Regions from separate parts of the Homo sapiens genome. Here regions 1, 2, 3, 5 and 6 are each linked to region 4. Evidence: promoter capture Hi-C in 16 types of primary human blood cells and fetal thymus (Javierre and others, 2016). All regions are on one chromosome and are shown on one strand. Each heading gives the region's core, a stretch centred on a gene start or on the middle of the fragment in contact. The rest is flanking DNA. Distances are from core to core; before and after follow the strand shown.

Region 1 (2,700 bases), core at 97-2,596, 410 kb after region 4:
GTGATAGTTTCTCAGACTTTCCTTATTTTTGATGACCTTGATAGTTTTAAGGAGTACTGGTCAGGTATTTTATAGAATGTTTCTCTGTTAGGATTTGTCTGATGTTTTTCTCAGGATTAGACTGGGGCTTATGGTTTTGGAAGGATGACCACAGAGGTAAAGTGCCATCACACCATTTCAAGGCATTGATACATAATATCAACATGATGTATCACTATTAACATTGACCTTGATCACCTGGCTGAGATTGTGTTTGTCAAGTTCTCCCTGGTAAAGTCACCTACCTTTTTCCATACTGTACTCTTTTGAGAAGAAAGTCACCATGGGCAGCCTGCACTTCAGGAGTGGGGAATTATGTTCTCCCTCGTAGAGGGTGGTGTTTCTATGTGAATTATTTGGAATTCTTCTGCATGGGGTATTTGTCTTTTTTCTCCATTTAAAAATCTTTCAACTGTATATTATGAACTCATGGGTATTTATTTTGTACTTTGGATTATAATCCAGTAATCCTTTATTTTGTTGCTTAAATTGTTTCAGCTTTGACCATGGGAAGTTCCTTTTTTTTTTTTTCTTTTTGGATACAAGGTCGTGCTCTGTCACCCAGGCTGGAGTGCAGTGACATGCTTACAGCTCACTGCAACCTCTGCCTCCCAGGCTCAGGTGATCCTCCCACCTCAACCTCCCAAGTAGCTGGGACCACAGGCGTGCACTACCAACCACGCCTGGCTAATTTTTTGTATTTTTTGTAGAGACAGGGTTTCGCCATGCTTCCCTGGCTGGTCTCGAACTCCTAAGCTCAAGCAATCCACCTGCCTTGGCCTCCCAGAGTGCTGGGATTATAGGCACGAGCCACTGTGCCTGGCCGGAAGCTCCTTAATTTGGCCCCGGTGTCTCATTGACATACCTCCATCATTGTGCTTTTTGTTTTGTTTTGTTTTTAGCACTTCCTTACCTTTGGGCACTACAACATGCTCCAGACTCATCATTTGTATTTCTTGCCTAATTTTAGAATTAACCATTCCTTCAAGGAGCCCTGGTTCCTTCTATAACTATTTTTTTTAATTGCGATATAACTCACATACTATATAATCCACCTATTTAAAATGTGCAACTCAGTAGCTTTTGATATATTCACAGATGTGCAGCCATTGCCGCAATCAATTTTAGAACATTTTCATCACCCCAAAAGAAATCTTATACCCCATAAGCAGTCTACTGTCCATTTCTCATGTTCCCCGGTCCTAGATAACACTCTTTTGATTTACCTATTCGGGATATTTCATGTAAATGAAGTCATATAATATGTGATCTTTTGTGCCTGGCAGCTTTTACTTAGCATGATGTTTTCAAGGTTCGTCCATGTTGTAGCTTGTATTAGTATTTCATTCCTTTTTATGGCCAAATAATAACTTCATTGTCTGGATATAATACATGTTATATAATCATTAGTTGAAGGACATTGGTTTATTTGCGTGTTTATACCTTTTGGCTATTATGAATAATGCTGCAATGTATATTCTATACAATAGCCTTTCTAAAGATTTTGTTGTTGTTTGAATTGGAATTAGTATCTACACAATTGATTGGTATACGTTTTAAGTTTCTTTTAAGTGATAATTATCCCCTCTTCACCTCCCTGTTTTCTTCTTTGTCATTTGTCCAGAAGAATTTCCACATGGTTGGGATATTGCTGGTTGCTTCCCCATGGTGTTTCTTACCATCTTCCTCTGTCTTTTTTATTTTTATTTTTGTTTCTTAATTGTTAGTTGGATCTAGAGATTTGATCATTTCAGGGTTTTGTTGGACTGCCACATAGGTGATGGTAATTTATTCTTTCATCAAGAGGTGTGTAATGTCTGTTTGGGTCTGTTTCTCTGTTGCTATTAGCTACCAGGGTTTAGAAAACCATAGCTAGGCTGGGCACGGTGGCTCACACCTATAAGCCCAGCACTTTGGGAGGCTGAGGCGGGCGGATCACGAGGTCAAGAGATTGAGACCATCCTGGCCAACATGGTGAAACCCCGTCTCTACTGAAAATACAGAAATTAGCCGGGCATGGTGGTGTGCACCTGAAGTTTCAGCTACTCAGGAGGCTAAGGCAGGAGAATTGCTTGAACCCAGGAGGCAGAGGTTGTAGTGAGCTGAGATTGTGCCACTGCACTCCAGCCTGGCGACAGAGTGAGACTCTGTCTTAAAAAAAAAAAAAAAACTTAACAGCTAATGGTCAGTTGTCTCTGGCTTGTTTTTTAAATAACCTATAAGCTAATGTTGATTTTTACATTTTGAAAGTGTTTTTAAAAAAGAATTAAAAAAATAAGCAAAGGAGAATTTGCGACAGCAACTGTGTGTAGCCTGAAAAGCCTAACATATTTTCTGTCTGGCCCTCTACAGAAAATATTTGCTGACTTCTGTACCGTTTACTTTTTATTGCCTAGAGCTGTTGATTCATTAGGAGTTGCAAAATAGTGATAATCTATCATTTTTTCATTTATTTGGTAGAGTACTTCTATAAACAGAAACTTTCACCAACAATTTTATTGCCACCAGGAACAGTTTGATGGGGAAAGATGTTTAATTTTTTTCCTCTTCCTTTTGAAAAGTTTTCAAGATGATTTGGTTCTATAGCATTCACGAAAGATGACCAATTAGTCTTTATTTGTTTTTTTTTTTTTGAGATTAAAGTAATGGAATTCAACAGAT
Region 2 (2,700 bases), core at 169-2,668, 360 kb after region 4:
GATTACAGGTGTGAGCCGCCGAGGGGCCTGGGGGAGTGGGGTGGATTCTAATTGGAAAAATGGAGGCTCACCTTATTTTCAGAAGCACCTTATACTCAGGCATATGTAGTGTATGCTGATGACTCACTTCTCCAGTCCTATCTCCCTGCTAAACTCCAGATCCAAGTAATGAACGGCTTACTGATATTTCTACTCAGATGTATTTAAAGTACCTATGTATGCATAGGTACTTTAAATTTCCTTGTCCAAAGTTAAACTAACATTGTCTCCCATCTGCTCATCTTTCTCATTCCCCCCTCAGTGAATGCCACCACCTTCATTCAGCTTCCCAAGTTGAAATCTGAGTTACCCACATCTCCTATCTCTCCCACACACCCCTGCTGTTTCTATCTATCTCCTAAATCTCTCTCTTATCTGTTCACTTTTCTTAATCCCCTTTGCTTTACTCCAGGCCACCATCATCTCCTCCCTAGACTATTGTAACAAAATCTGAACTGTTTTTTTTTTTTTTTGGTCTCGACTTCTTCCAAACTACACTCCAAGAAGCAGCCTCAGTGTTCCCTCTAAAACGCAAATCTGAGGTCAAATCCCACCTGTAGGCGTGGCTGACTCCTATCTACCTTCAGGTCTCTGTTTAGAGGCCAAAGCTTCTCTAATTCTCCTTCTCCCACCCCCACACACAATTTAGTCAAGTTAGATGCTCTTACTAAGTTTTCCCACACTCCTTATCTTTCCTTACCATAACAGTCTTTACACTTCTTTGTTATAATTGTTTACCCTTTCTGCTAGACTGGGAACTTTGTTTATCTGGCTCATCACTGTCTTCCCTTAACATAAGCCAGGACCAGAGACACAGGATGTACTTTATAAATATTAAATGAATGAACCAATAATTTTGTTATCCCAGCATCCAGCACAATACTTGGTGAAAACAGGTCCTCAATAATTTTTGCTGAATTAATAGATTGTTGTTGAACTAAAGATATGTGATCAACTAAGCAACATGTGACAAGCAAAATTAATATTGAGCATGCTTGTACTTAAAAAGGAGCACACATCCTTTTTAATTACGCTTAATCAGAGATGGCTCCCTAGAGCAGGTGGCTTCTGAAGGAGAACGGGAGAAAATAAAAATTCTTACCTAGTGGAATGTAAAGGGCAAATATAAAAATAACAATCTCTGTGCAGAAGAAAATCACTTTCTTAAGACTGGGGCAACTTCTAGTTGAAGTCTGCTGTGACTAGGAAGTGTTCTATCCTGAGATCTGCTAGTCAGGGGACTAGCTTTCTTCTTCTCAACCTCGGACACTGGGATTCAGCCAGGGAATCAGCTGCAGAATCTCATTACTGCCAGCAGTTAAACACTGAATTGTACGTCCTTTCTAATGTTGAAAAAAAAATCCTTTTACTATAGAGAATAAGATTCCTACCAAGTTTTATATTCATAGGCTTTAATATTTCATGTAATTTTTATATCAAAATACATTAGCATAAATTTCACAAGATATCAGTCTAGTTATTTTTGGCCTGCATTTCGATAACTTTTACAGACACACAATGGCCACTCTGTTTTCTTTGCTCTAAAGTTTCTTTGTGCACTTATTCCTTGAACATGGGCCTCATGTTCTAACTTTACTTAGATGAAAAAACTGTTAATTTCACCAGTGGTTTAATATCTCTTCATAGATTGATAGTTTAGACAACATAAAAGTGTTGATTAGCAGTATACGTGCAGGCTGAAGTATTTGTTGAAAATCTTGTTGGGAGAATAAGAATGATAAAAGAGATGCCTAAGAAAATCTTTTCTCAGATATGCTTTACTAAACAAAGAACAGGTTAATTACTCAATGATGATTTTTAAAGGGCATGTCGACAGTGTCAGTGACTTTGAAACAAAGTAAAGGAGCTGAATTCAAGTGTGTGCCTGAGTTACTTAACTATCTTGAACTGATTTAGGATCTGTAGCTTTAATCTGGGGCTCCATCTACTAGTGGTTTAATAGAGTGGGTTTTATTAAAATTGTGATTTAATCAGAAGCCAGAAATATACAACTGTTTTAAACTTTTTGATATTAACCTGATATACACAGTGGGCTGATAAATTAGTGAGACAGTTCATATAAGTCATATATGAAAATCAGTCTGTTATTAGCCACAACTCATGTATTTTTCAAAACTTGGAGATAAATGTAAGCTTCATCTCAGAAGTCATATTACACGTTATAGGTTTAATATAATGAAATTTTTCCAGACTTAGAAAAGATATCAGGAAATTAACATTTGCAAGGCAATTTACAGTTTTCAAAGAGCTTTTCTCATTAATTATCTCAGAAAACTGAATAATGATGTGATTATTAAAGGTTAATTAAGCAAATACTTGTGAAGTAATTGGGAGGTAATCTATTTCTAATTTAACAGGTCAATCACGGGTATTTAGGAAATATTTTTGCTGGTTAACAACTCTAACCAAAACAAAAAGGTATTTAAATGGTTTCCCTAGTGAAAAACCATAAGCATGTGTTTCCTCTATTAAGTCAATTGTTTCAAAGAACTAGCATGAGAATTCCTAATTTCACCGTTTTGATGATTTAAGGTTTTATGAAGATTCTGAGCTCTTCCCTCCCGACGTTAATCCATGTCTTACATTGTTCATTTTGGCGCTTTAGAATAAAATATCTTTGGAAAGTAACTATGAGAAAGC
Region 3 (2,700 bases), core at 95-2,594, 390 kb after region 4:
ACCAACTAGGGAATTCTGCCCAATCAGTTGAGCCAAATAGTGCTGTCCTATTGTAAAATTGTTTAATCTGTGTGCTTGTGTGTGTGCTTGTCAGAATTTGTGAATCATAGAATTGTTTTAACTGGAAGAAGACCCCCAAGATCATCTGCTTCAACCCCTTCCTTCCTCTCTTTTCCAGAGAGGTTGCACTTTACTTGAGCTGTGACTAGGATTATGCCACATTCTTTTGTAAGTTGTAACCTATTTTTGTCTGTTTTGAATTTCCTTTTTTTGCTAAGCTTTAGCACAAAGTTCACCAGGTTTTGAATGAATGTCTCATATTTGCAATAATTTAGGGAACAGTTGAGCATGGAAGGAGAGAATAGAAATATGGGGAGGGAGATCGTGAAATGATGTTTCCAGTGGAATTAATAGAAGTACAAAGGACCAAGAATTAAGGTGCGGCTCAGATCTCCCTTTTGTCTGCTTTTGGTTTGTGATGGTATAACATTGCCTGCAAACAGCCACGATGAATATTTTCATTTTTATTAATAGCAATATGGGGGCATGAATAGATTCTGTGATATTTTTAGATACGCAGAGACTGTGAAGAAAATGACATTTAGTATATAATTTTTACCCTGCTCTTAAGGTGTTTGTAATCTAGTTGAGAGGTCCTACCTTCAAAAGGTTTACGATCTGATTGGAGACTGAAGGACCTAAAGAAGTTAAGTAACAATGTCATATCTCTGTCCTTTCTGCTAAATGAATGCTACTTACTATTTTTCCAGTGCCTAGAAGAGTGCCAGGCCCATAGTTGATTTTCAGTAAGTATTGGTTGTATAGATAAATAGAAGGTACTGACAGTAAGCATGAGAGGACCTCTGAGTGGTGTGGCATTTGGAGAAGGCCTGGGATCTTGTACAGTGCAAAGCTTAAGTAACTTCATTCTAAGTTTGTATTTCCAACTCCCCCAACCTCAGCATGTTCTCCCCACCCACCTCCTCACACCCCAAAGCAGTCCCTGTCTTTTGTTAACTGATTTTTTTCTTTGGAAGCAAGCCTGATCTTTCTCACATTTATTTTGCTACTGCTCAGGCTACCTTCTTTTCTTATCTCTACCTTTCCTCTTTCTCACAACATTGCTGTTCCTCTTCAAGGATTTAGAAGGATCATGTTTTGGTTTATAAGACAACTGTGTTTTCTTAGGTCCTTCTTCTCTCCAGGGATTATTGTAGGAGGTAAGGCACTTTCTGTGGAAGAACTGAGTTATCAGAAAAAGTTCAGAAACATATTCTATGATTATTTAGAGGAAAACTGTAGGATAGTGATATCTTATAATAACATAGCAATTTTTTTAAATTAATTAATTTATTTATTTTGAGACAGAGTCTCTCTCTCTGGCACAGGCTGGAGTGTAGTGACATGATCTCAGCTCCCCAGAACCTCTGCCTCTCAGGTTCTAGTGATTCTCCTGCCTCAGCCTCCCGAGTAGCTGGGATTACAGGTGCCCGCCACCACGCCTGGCTAATTTTTGTATTTCTAGTAGAGATGGGGTTTTGCCATGTTGGCCAGGCTGGTCTTGAACTCCTGACCTCAGGTGATCCACTCACCTCGGCCTCCCAAAGTGCTGGGATAACAGGCATGAGCCACCGTTTTCAGGTTGTCATAACTACATTCTAATTGACTGCATATTTTTAAACACAAATTAAACTAGTTATGTTCTCCACCCTACTCAGTTTTGGCAGTATAAAGGCCTGTTTCACAGAGAAGAACACATAAACAAGTAAGTACAAGGAAGCTTGTGTGAATGAAGTTCTGCTGTACAGCTCAGTGACTTTCTCTGATTTAAGATGTAGCTCTTGGCAATTTCAAATAGTTTGTGTTCTCTGAAGGAGAAGTCCAGTCTATTTAACTGTGTTTAGCAAAAACTAATTATGATTCTCTGATGGGAAATAGATTCTCAGACTCATTTATTCATTCAACAAGCATTTATTGAGCAGCTATGTATGAGGCACTGTGCTAGGTAACGGGAGAAATAAGTTACCAGTCTAACAAATGGCATATCATACGTAAAAATAATACTGCTGAGGAGAAGGTGATATATGCTGTAAAAGGGGTGCAGAGTGCTTTGGGTTTTCTAAAAATGAGAAGGTTACTTCCATGAAGCAACTCAGTGTAAGCTTTATGGGATGATAGAATTTGATAGATCTTGAAGGCTGGGTACATGGTTCCTCTGTCCATTGCGCAGGATGTTGGCCCTGGCTTAGCAGTGGAGACAGACCTATGGCGATGGGAAGCGGGAGAGGAAGTATAATGAGCAAACATCCAGAAGTGGGAAAGCATTGGTGATATGGGCAACAGAAAGTAATTTACTTGGAGGTTTAGGGTGGTGATGTGAAGTGGCACAAGAAAGGGATAGAAAAGAAGCGTCCTTGATCTGACAGTGGTGTATACTGTGAATTGGAAGAGTGGGTTCAGTCTAGGCTGTTTACCCAAGTTGGTGTTTCATGGACCATTGTTCTTCTAATCTAGTAGTTTAATAGTTTTATATTAGGGGAGGGGAAAGTGTTCCCTGTTCAAGTAAGCTAGAGAATCCCTGCAGGAGAAGCAGGGAGAAGGATATTGACAATGTAGAATGCTTTCTGTGATATACTGTATTCAGTTGTGTTGCCGTATTAAACACAGTGGATGTTTGAATGTTCTGTAGATTTTTATCAC
Region 4 (2,700 bases), core at 21-2,520:
TAGCTGCGATTACAGGCGGGCACCACCATGCCCGACTAATTTTTTGTATTTTTAGTAGAGACGGGGTTTCACCATGCTGGCCAAGCTGGAAAATTTTATTTTTAATAAATGAAAGGCAGAGTATTTATCTGAAAAAAGTGGGAGACCAACAGTCTCATGGGATTGTTATAAAGATTAAAAGAGAGAGTGTTACTGAAATACTTAGAAGAGCTGTTATTCTATTGCTGTCCTTTCCCCTTGTATTTGGATAGATTACCGTACTTGTTTCTTCTATGTAACTCTAATTGTCAGTGGGGTTCTCCCTCTCTTAGAGGCCTGGAGAAACTTGTCTTAAATGCTTTCCCAGTTAATGAATTGGGAGAGGCAGATTTTATGTCTAAATTACAAGGGCGAGACTTAAAAGTATGAATTGGGGCTAATGTCAGTGCTCAGGTGCAGGGATCCTCCGTTTTGTTCATCACACAGCTCCCGGCACTTTAATAAATGAGGCTCAAAGAAACGACGGGCTTAGGTCATGCAGTAGTCAAATTCAGAACTCATGTTTGATTCCAAAGCCCACACGTTTTCCTAGTTTAGAAACACTAAACATTTAATTCACCGCACCGGGGGCCAGACAGGTAATGGAGAACGCCTTAAGTATGTTAGGAAGGGAAGTTATCTACAGTCGCAGCCGCTATTCAGATCTATTTCACTGCCTTGCAGAAAACGCCGACTGTCGTCTCTTTATCCCATGGCCGATTTCTTGTGAAATCTCCTAACTTTTAAATATTTCCAATCAAAAGACTGCCGTTCAAATGCAGCCCACCAGGAGCATGTTTGCAAACTCTGGAGTAAACAAGAGTGGGAAGCTGATAAGGTGAGTACCTCAGTTCGATAGTGACAGCCAAGAAACGGGGAGTTTTGTACCTAAGGCGAGAAAGAAATTCTCCGCCGAAATCTCCCGGAAGAAGGACTGAATTAAATGCAGATTAGAGTCAGGGCAGGGTAAGGTGGCGGGAGAACTAGGCTGCCATCCCAGGTGGCTGGCCTACCAGCCAGCGCGGCCGGAGGTACAGACCATGTACAGACCACGGCGAGGGGTGTTAGGGGCTTCTCGGGATAAAGGCAGCGAGTGGCTGCGCATTCCCTCCCCGACTCTTTCAGAGGTAAGCCTTCTGTGGAGCAGACCCTAATCCTCCCCCTGATTCCTTAGGTCACTCGGCGATTTACTTCCTTCCCCCGCTTCCTCACAGTCCTCCACAGCCCTACGACTTCCGCTTGCCTCGTCGTCTGGGAAACCGCCGACTTCCGGCCGCGCAGCGGTGGGCTGAGCTAAAATGGCTGAGGAGAGAGTCGCGACGGTGAGCGCCGAGATTCTCTTTAGTTGCCCGGCCGCAGGGCAAGGCAAGCTGGCGGGTGGCTTTTGTCCCATGCAGCGGTTCCTGGAGAGAGGCGGAGCTGGGTGCCGAGCGTCTCAGGGTGGGCGGGGCGACACGGTCCCCTTTTTACTGTCCCGGGAACTGGTCGCCTGGGGCAAGTCTGGATACTTAGCAGCACAGGTCCTGTTCTAGGACTGTAGTCCCTCTTGGGGTGCGCTGGACGGAGAAGGGAGACTTTTCACCAGTAATGGCTCTTACCGTAGTGCCATCTTTTTCTGTCTCGGGGGTTTGGAAGGTAATGACTAGCACTTGTGTAGACAGTTCCTGTTAATCCCGTGAATTGGGAATTTAACATGCCTGGAAGCTTGCAGCGTCACTGCCTTCTGCCAGTGGAGCGGGACTGTGTTTTTTCTGTGGTGATTAAGTTTAGGAAAGTACGGTTTTGGAATTCATCTGAAGGCTGAGTTGGGCGTTCACTCCACAGAACTGCTAATATAGAGGAACCCGATGAATTCAGGATGACCTAGTCGCTATTTTTTGAGGCATATATCTATAATTGGATCTAATTTCGGTAAAGTGCCAAGTGTGAAGCTTTGTTTACCTTGCTTTAGTGTTGGGTTTGAAAGCCTGTTCTGTCCATTTGTTAGAATGATTTTAGGTATTCGGAATTTATTGTCTTTCGAAAAACGCCCTGGAAAACAGTACAAATAGCAGCCTTTGGCTGTTTTACAACTTAGTTTTGGCTAAGCAGCAAGGTTAGTGTTATTGTTAGAGGGCCTTTTGTTTGTTTTCTACTCTCATTTGCAGAGTAGTCATATTATTCTAGTCTAATTAGAAAACTCTGAAGACAGAAACTTTTTTTTTTGAGACGGAGTGTCGCTGTTGTCGGCCCGGGCTGGAGTGCAATGGCGCGATCTCGGCTCACTGCAACCTCCGCCTCCCAGGTTCCAGCAATTCTCCTGCCTCAGCCTCCGGATTAGCTGAGAATACAGGCGCCTGCCACCACGCCCGGCCGAAACATTTTTATTAAGCTAAGAAATTTAAAATAGCTAGGCCGGACGCGGTGCATCACGCCTGTAATCCCAGCACTTTGGGAGGCCGAGACGGGTGGATCACTTGAGGTCATGAGTTTGAGACCATCCTGGCCAACATGGTGAAACCCCGTCTCTACTAAAAATACAAAAATTAGCGGGGCATCGTGGCGCTCGCCTGTAATCCCAGGTACCTGGAAGGCTGAGGCAGGAGAATCGCTTGAACCCCGGAGGCGGAGGTTGCAGTGAGCCGAGATCATGCCATTGCACTCCAGCATGAGCGACAGAGACAGACTCCTTCTCAAAAAAAA
Region 5 (2,700 bases), core at 175-2,674, 420 kb before region 4:
AGACAGAGATGAAGAATATGTGCTCCAAATACAGCACTCGGGAACAAGACTCCTGGCCTACATGACAAATTCCACAAGTCCAGCTAGACATGTTGTTGGCAGGTACTAGCCCCACTTACATCGAGGAAGCTGATGTTGATGTGGAGGTCAATGTCCACGTCATCGATAGTTCCATATTCTCTATAGAGATACAGGTGACAACAGGTGAGACTCATTAAGGGAGAAAGAAGGGAATAGAAACTGAGTTGGAAAGAGAACTGAGCCTGGGGACAGGGGAAAGGGAAGAGTGGATGACAGTTTTGTACCTAGGGTCTTAGCTATAGCCTTACACCACTTACCTGATCAGGATCTACTTCCAGGCCAAAAGCATTTCTTACCTGAAAGGTGAAACTACTGGCCCAGAGGGGTCTAGGATAAGAGGGAATTCCTAAGAAAAGTGGCCTTACTCTCTACTCTCAGCCAAGCTCATTTATTCTGAGCATTTTCTATCATTAAGTTCATAATTTATCCCACTATCATACCATAAAAAGAAAAACCTCTAGCCTTTTAACAACTCAGAAAGAAGTGACTTGCTCCCCTGCCACCCCTGAAGTAGAGTCCCACCTGATGGATACAGAGTTCTCACTGTAGATCTCCTTCACGGCTTCAATGTCTGCATCAAGCTGTGGGTGTCGATACAGGTCAGCTGCACAGCTCCCCTGAGATAGCAGCAAAAATGGTGGTGGAGAGAGGTGGAAAAAGACGAGGGAAAGAGAGAGATAATAAAAAGAATATGAAAAGACACCAGGAACAGGAGAAATCAGACAGCAGTATAGGGGAAGTAAAAGCCACTTATGTGAAGGGGTTCTCAGTGGTGACCCTAGCAAGGGATTTCATTAACAGAGGTCTCCATCTCATCATGACTTTAAAAAGGTTCAGCAGACCAAATGTAGGCTTTTGCTTGGAGTTCACTTCCTTAAATCTCCAGCTTTTCTCTCAGACCTTGACCAGGATACCTTCTATGACAACTCAGAACAGGCTGAAGAGTTACAGGTTTCCTAAGATTGGTTCTAAGTGAAGAGCATTCTGAGAGTCTGGGTACTTCTGCTCAGGACTGTGCCCTGGGTAGTGATGGCATTAAGCAAACGCTGGCAGAGTAATCTTTTAAGATGTGACCCTAATGAATGAAACTACCCCCACTGGCTAGTGTTATAAAAGTCAGAAAATAATTATGTCTAATTAAGATATGGGTAGTCTCCACATACAGAGGATGTAGTTTACTCTGGAACAGGTATGACTCCAAAGAAAGAGCAAGGGCACGGGATCAGCTCTGACAAGACCATGCTCAGACCACATCAACATTATAACCTCATCTCATCTGTGCTCCAGAACCTCTTTCACTCCTGATGTATCCAAAAAGCAGCACATATCTAGACCATCCAACACGGGGGTCTTGGGAGATGTAACCTCACCTGAACGCCATAGAGAAATTCCTCTGATTCATTATCTCCCTCCGAGTCGTCATCATTCCAGAACTGGCCTTTGATGTCCTAGTGGTGAGAAATAAGGATATCATGCTTTGTTAGGTCCCTATTATCCCATGGAAAGGCGTGGGATGATATGGTGAGGAACAGATTCCCACAAAGATTGGGAAATATAGAATAACTGAAGCCCTGATCCCTTTACACCTTTCATGTCACCCTTTGTGAGAGTCTCAGTCTCTTCCTGATATGATCATATCCATAAACTAGCTCTTAGTGGGACAGAGGAAAACATCTAGGGAATTTTGGCCTTCTGAAGTCTCAGTATGATGACTGAGAGGCTCTGGTAGCCAGTAGGAAAGAAATGCAAATGACTTCAATGTCAAGGTTGACTCCTAAGCATATCTGGGTTCCAGTACAAGCTGGCCTCTTCCAGGATCATTACCTAAGACAGTTCCCAAGCACACCTAAACTCTCTTGTCTCATTATTTTCTTTCTATCCTTTAAAGTACTTAACTCTCCTCTCCCTCCCCAAGAAAACCCACTACACAAACACACCAAGTAATACTGTTTCTGTGCCCCTTCCCTTTCCTTTAACTTCAAATAGCCACTCTATCTTCCAAAAGGGTAGAAGGGAAAATACCAAGAAAGGGTGAGATCTGCACTTTGTCTCCTCTACCCTTTGAACAATCAGTTGGAGAGGTGGGCAGTCAGTTCTCACCATTGGGTCAGTGGGTCACACACACTCTCAGGTCAGTGCTAGGCAGCACCCCTCCATACCACTAGCCGAACCAAGGCCAACGAGATGGGCATTTAGGAGACCACAAAGGGAGACAAGGTAGGGCACGATGTCAGGGACAACTGGTGATCTGTTGGGGATGGCAGGCTCTGCTGTTGCGGTGGTAACAAGTCACTGTCCTGTGGAAAGTAGATAATAATGGGTTTCATCACCACTTAATAGCTGGGTGGTGTATATATACAGGCACACGTATTTATCAATACACTTTTTTTTTTTGAGACAGAGTTTCGCTCTTGTCGCCCAGGCTGGAGTGCAATGGCGCGATCTTGGCTCACTGCAACCTCCGCCTCCTGGGTTCAAGTAATTCTCATGCCTCAGCCTCCCAAGTAGCTGGAATTACAGGTGCCTGCTGCCACGCCCAGCTAATTTTAATATTTTCAGTAGAGATGGGGTTTCACCACATTGGCCAGGCTGGTCTCGAACTCCCGACTTCAGGTGACC
Region 6 (2,700 bases), core at 115-2,614, 310 kb before region 4:
TATACTGTGTTCAAACAGAATATCCAAAGCAGGGGAACACCTACAGCTCACAGAAATAAAACTCAAATTTTTCATAAACCAGGCCCAGGCTACCCACATACACCTTGATCAAGTTTAGCTTCTTGGACTCAGTACTATACAGGGATACTAGAAAAGTATCATGCTTTAGGTAATAAATGGTGGCTCACACCTGTAATCTCAGCACTCGGGGAGGCCGAGACAAGAGGATCGCTTGAAGCCAGGGGTTCAAGACCAGCCTGGGCAACACAGTAAGACCCCCATCTCTACAAAATGCAAAAAATAAAAAAATTAGCTGGGTGCGGTGGCATGCGTCTGTAGTCCTAGCTACTCATCAGTGAGGCGGGAAGACTGCTTGAGTCCTGGAGTTCGAGGTTGCTGTAAGCCGTGATCACACCACTGCACTCCAGTCTGAATGACAGAGAAAGACCTGTTTCTTAAAAAAAAAAAGAAAGAAAAGAAAAGAAAAAAACAGGGCTGTGAGAAGAGAGGCTGGTGGAAGACTGCAGGCCAAGCTAATCTAGGCCCTGGGATTCAAAATGAAATATGACACTTATTTTGCCCTTCAACTAAAAACTGTGCTTCTGCCATCACCTTCTTTCTAAAGACAATTTATTCATCACTGTATTTCTCCTATGTATCCCTCGTTCTCCAGAAACCCCTTCATGAGAAAAAGTAATTCTACTACAAAACCTTCTTCCCGTGTTGTTTTCTTCCTCTTTGCTTTTAAAACAATAAACTTAGTGGCAATCATCTTTGGCAGGAATATGCCTTGTCTTTGCCGTGGGAAAGGTTAAAGTATAGTTAGCCGCTAGCCCAATTAAAGTGGAGAGAACTAATCGGCCTTATTCTTTCTCCCCAGCCCAGCTGCTTGACCTTATCTGTTTCCCTCCTAGATGCAATCCCAATGCATCTCTCACTGCATGCTGAGTTAAGAGCAGCACGAGTTGGGATCACACAATAAGCAGCATAGTGTGATTATCCTTTGCCTGGAATCACACACTTACACTCCAAATTGGTAACCTGAAAGGAAAGGTAATCCTCAATGAAAACCTGCAAATCATATCTTTTTGATGATCTTCTCAGACCTGTAATCCCAACACTTTGGGTGGCTGAAGCAGGCAGAGTGGTTGAGCCCAGGGGTTCGAGACCAGCTGGGGCAACATGGTGGTACTCCATCTCTACAAAAATTAGCTATGCACCTGTAGTCCCAGCTACTCAAGAGGCTGAGATGGGAGGACAGCTTGAGCCTCGGAGGTCGAGGCTGCAGTGGGCTGTGTTTGTGCCACTGCACTCCAGACTGGGTGACAAAATAAGACCCTGTCTCTAAAAGAAAAAAAAAAAAAAAAAAAAAAGAAAACAAAACCCAAACCCATAAAGCCTTCTTACAAATGTTTACACAAAGTAGCTCTTTAACGTTAATATATTTTACAAATAATTACTACATATCTACAACGTTCCAGATACAGAAGAAATGGCCAAAGAAGGTATTTTAGGAGATCCAGATTATAATGAACTATGCCATTTATTAATTTAGTCACTTCTTTAATATCTGAGGATGAGCAAATCAAATACTGATAATGGCTGCAGAAGGACACAGGCTCTTATATAATAATCTTACTTCCATTCCAGAATAAAAGGGCTGGAGAAGGGGGGCAGGATTATTCTGTTGAAGGACAATGGCATCCTCAGCAACTCACAGGGATGTGCAGGTGAACATCAGACCAGGATGGGAACCTTATAATATCTATGATATACTATGGCTTCTATCAACCAGTTTCAGGAAAAGCAAAGAAGAATGCAGTCATGGCCAGGTGCAGTGGCTCACACCTGTAATCTTGAGGTGGGCAGATCACATGAGGCCAGGAGTTCGAGACCAGTCTGGCCAACGTGGTGAAACCCCATCGCTACTAAACCCCGTCTCTACTAAAAAATAAAAAATTAGCCAGGCATGGTGGTGGGTGCCTGAATTCCCAGCTACTTGGGAGGCTGAGGCAGGATAATCACTTGAACCCAGGAGGTGGAGGTTGCAGTGAGTCAAAATCACACCACTGCATTCCAGCCTGGGCAACAGAGCAAGACTCCATCTCAAAAAAAAAAAAAAAATGCAGTCTAATGGCAGAATTAGACTTAGCCACTTTACTTGGAAAAATTTGGACTTTATCAGCTCCATCAAGCACCATGCTCCACACCATGCTTATTAAATGTCTGGAGCAACATTAGATGGGTGCCATTCCAAATTCCAAATAATCACATCTTTGCTTTGCAAACAGGATGTGGCTTAATAATCAAACAGGGAACTAGATTCATTCAAGTATCTAGTTCCTAAAATAAGTCTATTTAACAGGTTCAACAACATGCAACACACACCCTCCAATTGGTAGAAACACCTCTCAATGACAAAGAAAGGTGGCAAATACTAAACACCTTCACAGACCATTTAGCAACTGGTGGGACTAACCCTTGAAGGTGAATTCAAAATAGAACTGAACCTCAATACCAGACTTCTTTTTCAGAAAAGGGAGTATGAATTCTTAGTTTCAGGTTCAGACAAAAACCAGAAGTTGTATTGCATTAGGAAAAACACTGGGCTGGTCAGGTGGCTCATTCCACCCTGTAATCCCAGGACTTTGGTAGGCCAAAGCAGGGGGATCACTTGAGCTCAGGAATTGGAGACCAGCT

What was found. Contacts are between HindIII fragments. The CHiCAGO score rates a contact against its expected background, and 5 or more counts as called.
Region 1: a fragment that was not itself captured here is called in contact with the fragment with the promoter of HIGD2B in region 4 in 2 of 17 cell types (M2 macrophages and naive CD4 T cells); the score reaches 6.2 in M2 macrophages.
Region 2: a fragment that was not itself captured here is called in contact with the fragment with the promoter of HIGD2B in region 4 in 6 of 17 cell types (naive CD4 T cells, non-activated CD4 T cells, total CD8 T cells and 3 more); the score reaches 8.5 in naive CD4 T cells.
Region 3: a fragment that was not itself captured here is called in contact with the fragment with the promoter of HIGD2B in region 4 in 2 of 17 cell types (total CD4 T cells and naive CD8 T cells); the score reaches 6.0 in total CD4 T cells.
Region 5: a contact is called between a fragment that was not itself captured here and the fragment with the promoter of HIGD2B in region 4, in 1 of 17 cell types (naive CD8 T cells). The highest score is 5.5, in naive CD8 T cells.
Region 6: a contact is called between a fragment that was not itself captured here and the fragment with the promoter of HIGD2B in region 4, in 1 of 17 cell types (naive CD4 T cells). The highest score is 5.2, in naive CD4 T cells.

What each region holds. Positions count from the first base shown.
Region 1 is chr15:73,093,015-73,095,714 of GRCh38, forward strand. The region is part of intron 1 of NEO1 (neogenin 1); the gene reads left to right. Among named protein-coding and RNA genes, the nearest start is that of NEO1, 42 kb to the left of the region's middle. The HindIII fragment of the contact is 3,259 bases long and covers 1-2,700 here.
Region 2 is chr15:73,048,436-73,051,135 of GRCh38, forward strand. No RefSeq gene overlaps it. Among named protein-coding and RNA genes, the nearest start is that of NEO1, 2.7 kb to the right of the region's middle. The HindIII fragment of the contact is 1,546 bases long and covers 646-2,191 here.
Region 3 is chr15:73,075,701-73,078,400 of GRCh38, forward strand. The region is part of intron 1 of NEO1 (neogenin 1); the gene reads left to right. Among named protein-coding and RNA genes, the nearest start is that of NEO1, 25 kb to the left of the region's middle. The HindIII fragment of the contact is 867 bases long and covers 912-1,778 here.
Region 4 is chr15:72,684,912-72,687,611 of GRCh38, forward strand. HIGD2B (HIG1 hypoxia inducible domain family member 2B) reads right to left here and starts at 1,271. Exons shown (of 3, transcript NM_001350932.3): 1 at 907-1,271. It overlaps BBS4 (Bardet-Biedl syndrome 4), which reads left to right and starts at 1,296. Exons shown (of 16, transcript NM_033028.5): 1 at 1,296-1,340. The coding sequence starts at 1,317. The HindIII fragment of the contact is 12,662 bases long and covers 1-1,720 here.
Region 5 is chr15:72,265,294-72,267,993 of GRCh38, forward strand. PARP6 (poly(ADP-ribose) polymerase family member 6) reads right to left here. Exons shown (of 24, transcript NM_001323532.2): 3 at 2,182-2,378; 4 at 1,452-1,529; 5 at 604-698; 6 at 120-180. The coding sequence starts at 2,184. Among named protein-coding and RNA genes, the nearest start is that of PARP6, 5.9 kb to the right of the region's middle. The HindIII fragment of the contact is 4,663 bases long and covers 1-2,700 here.
Region 6 is chr15:72,370,241-72,372,940 of GRCh38, forward strand. All of the region lies in intron 1 of HEXA (hexosaminidase subunit alpha), which reads right to left. Among named protein-coding and RNA genes, the nearest start is that of HEXA, 4.4 kb to the right of the region's middle. The HindIII fragment of the contact is 4,935 bases long and covers 1-2,700 here.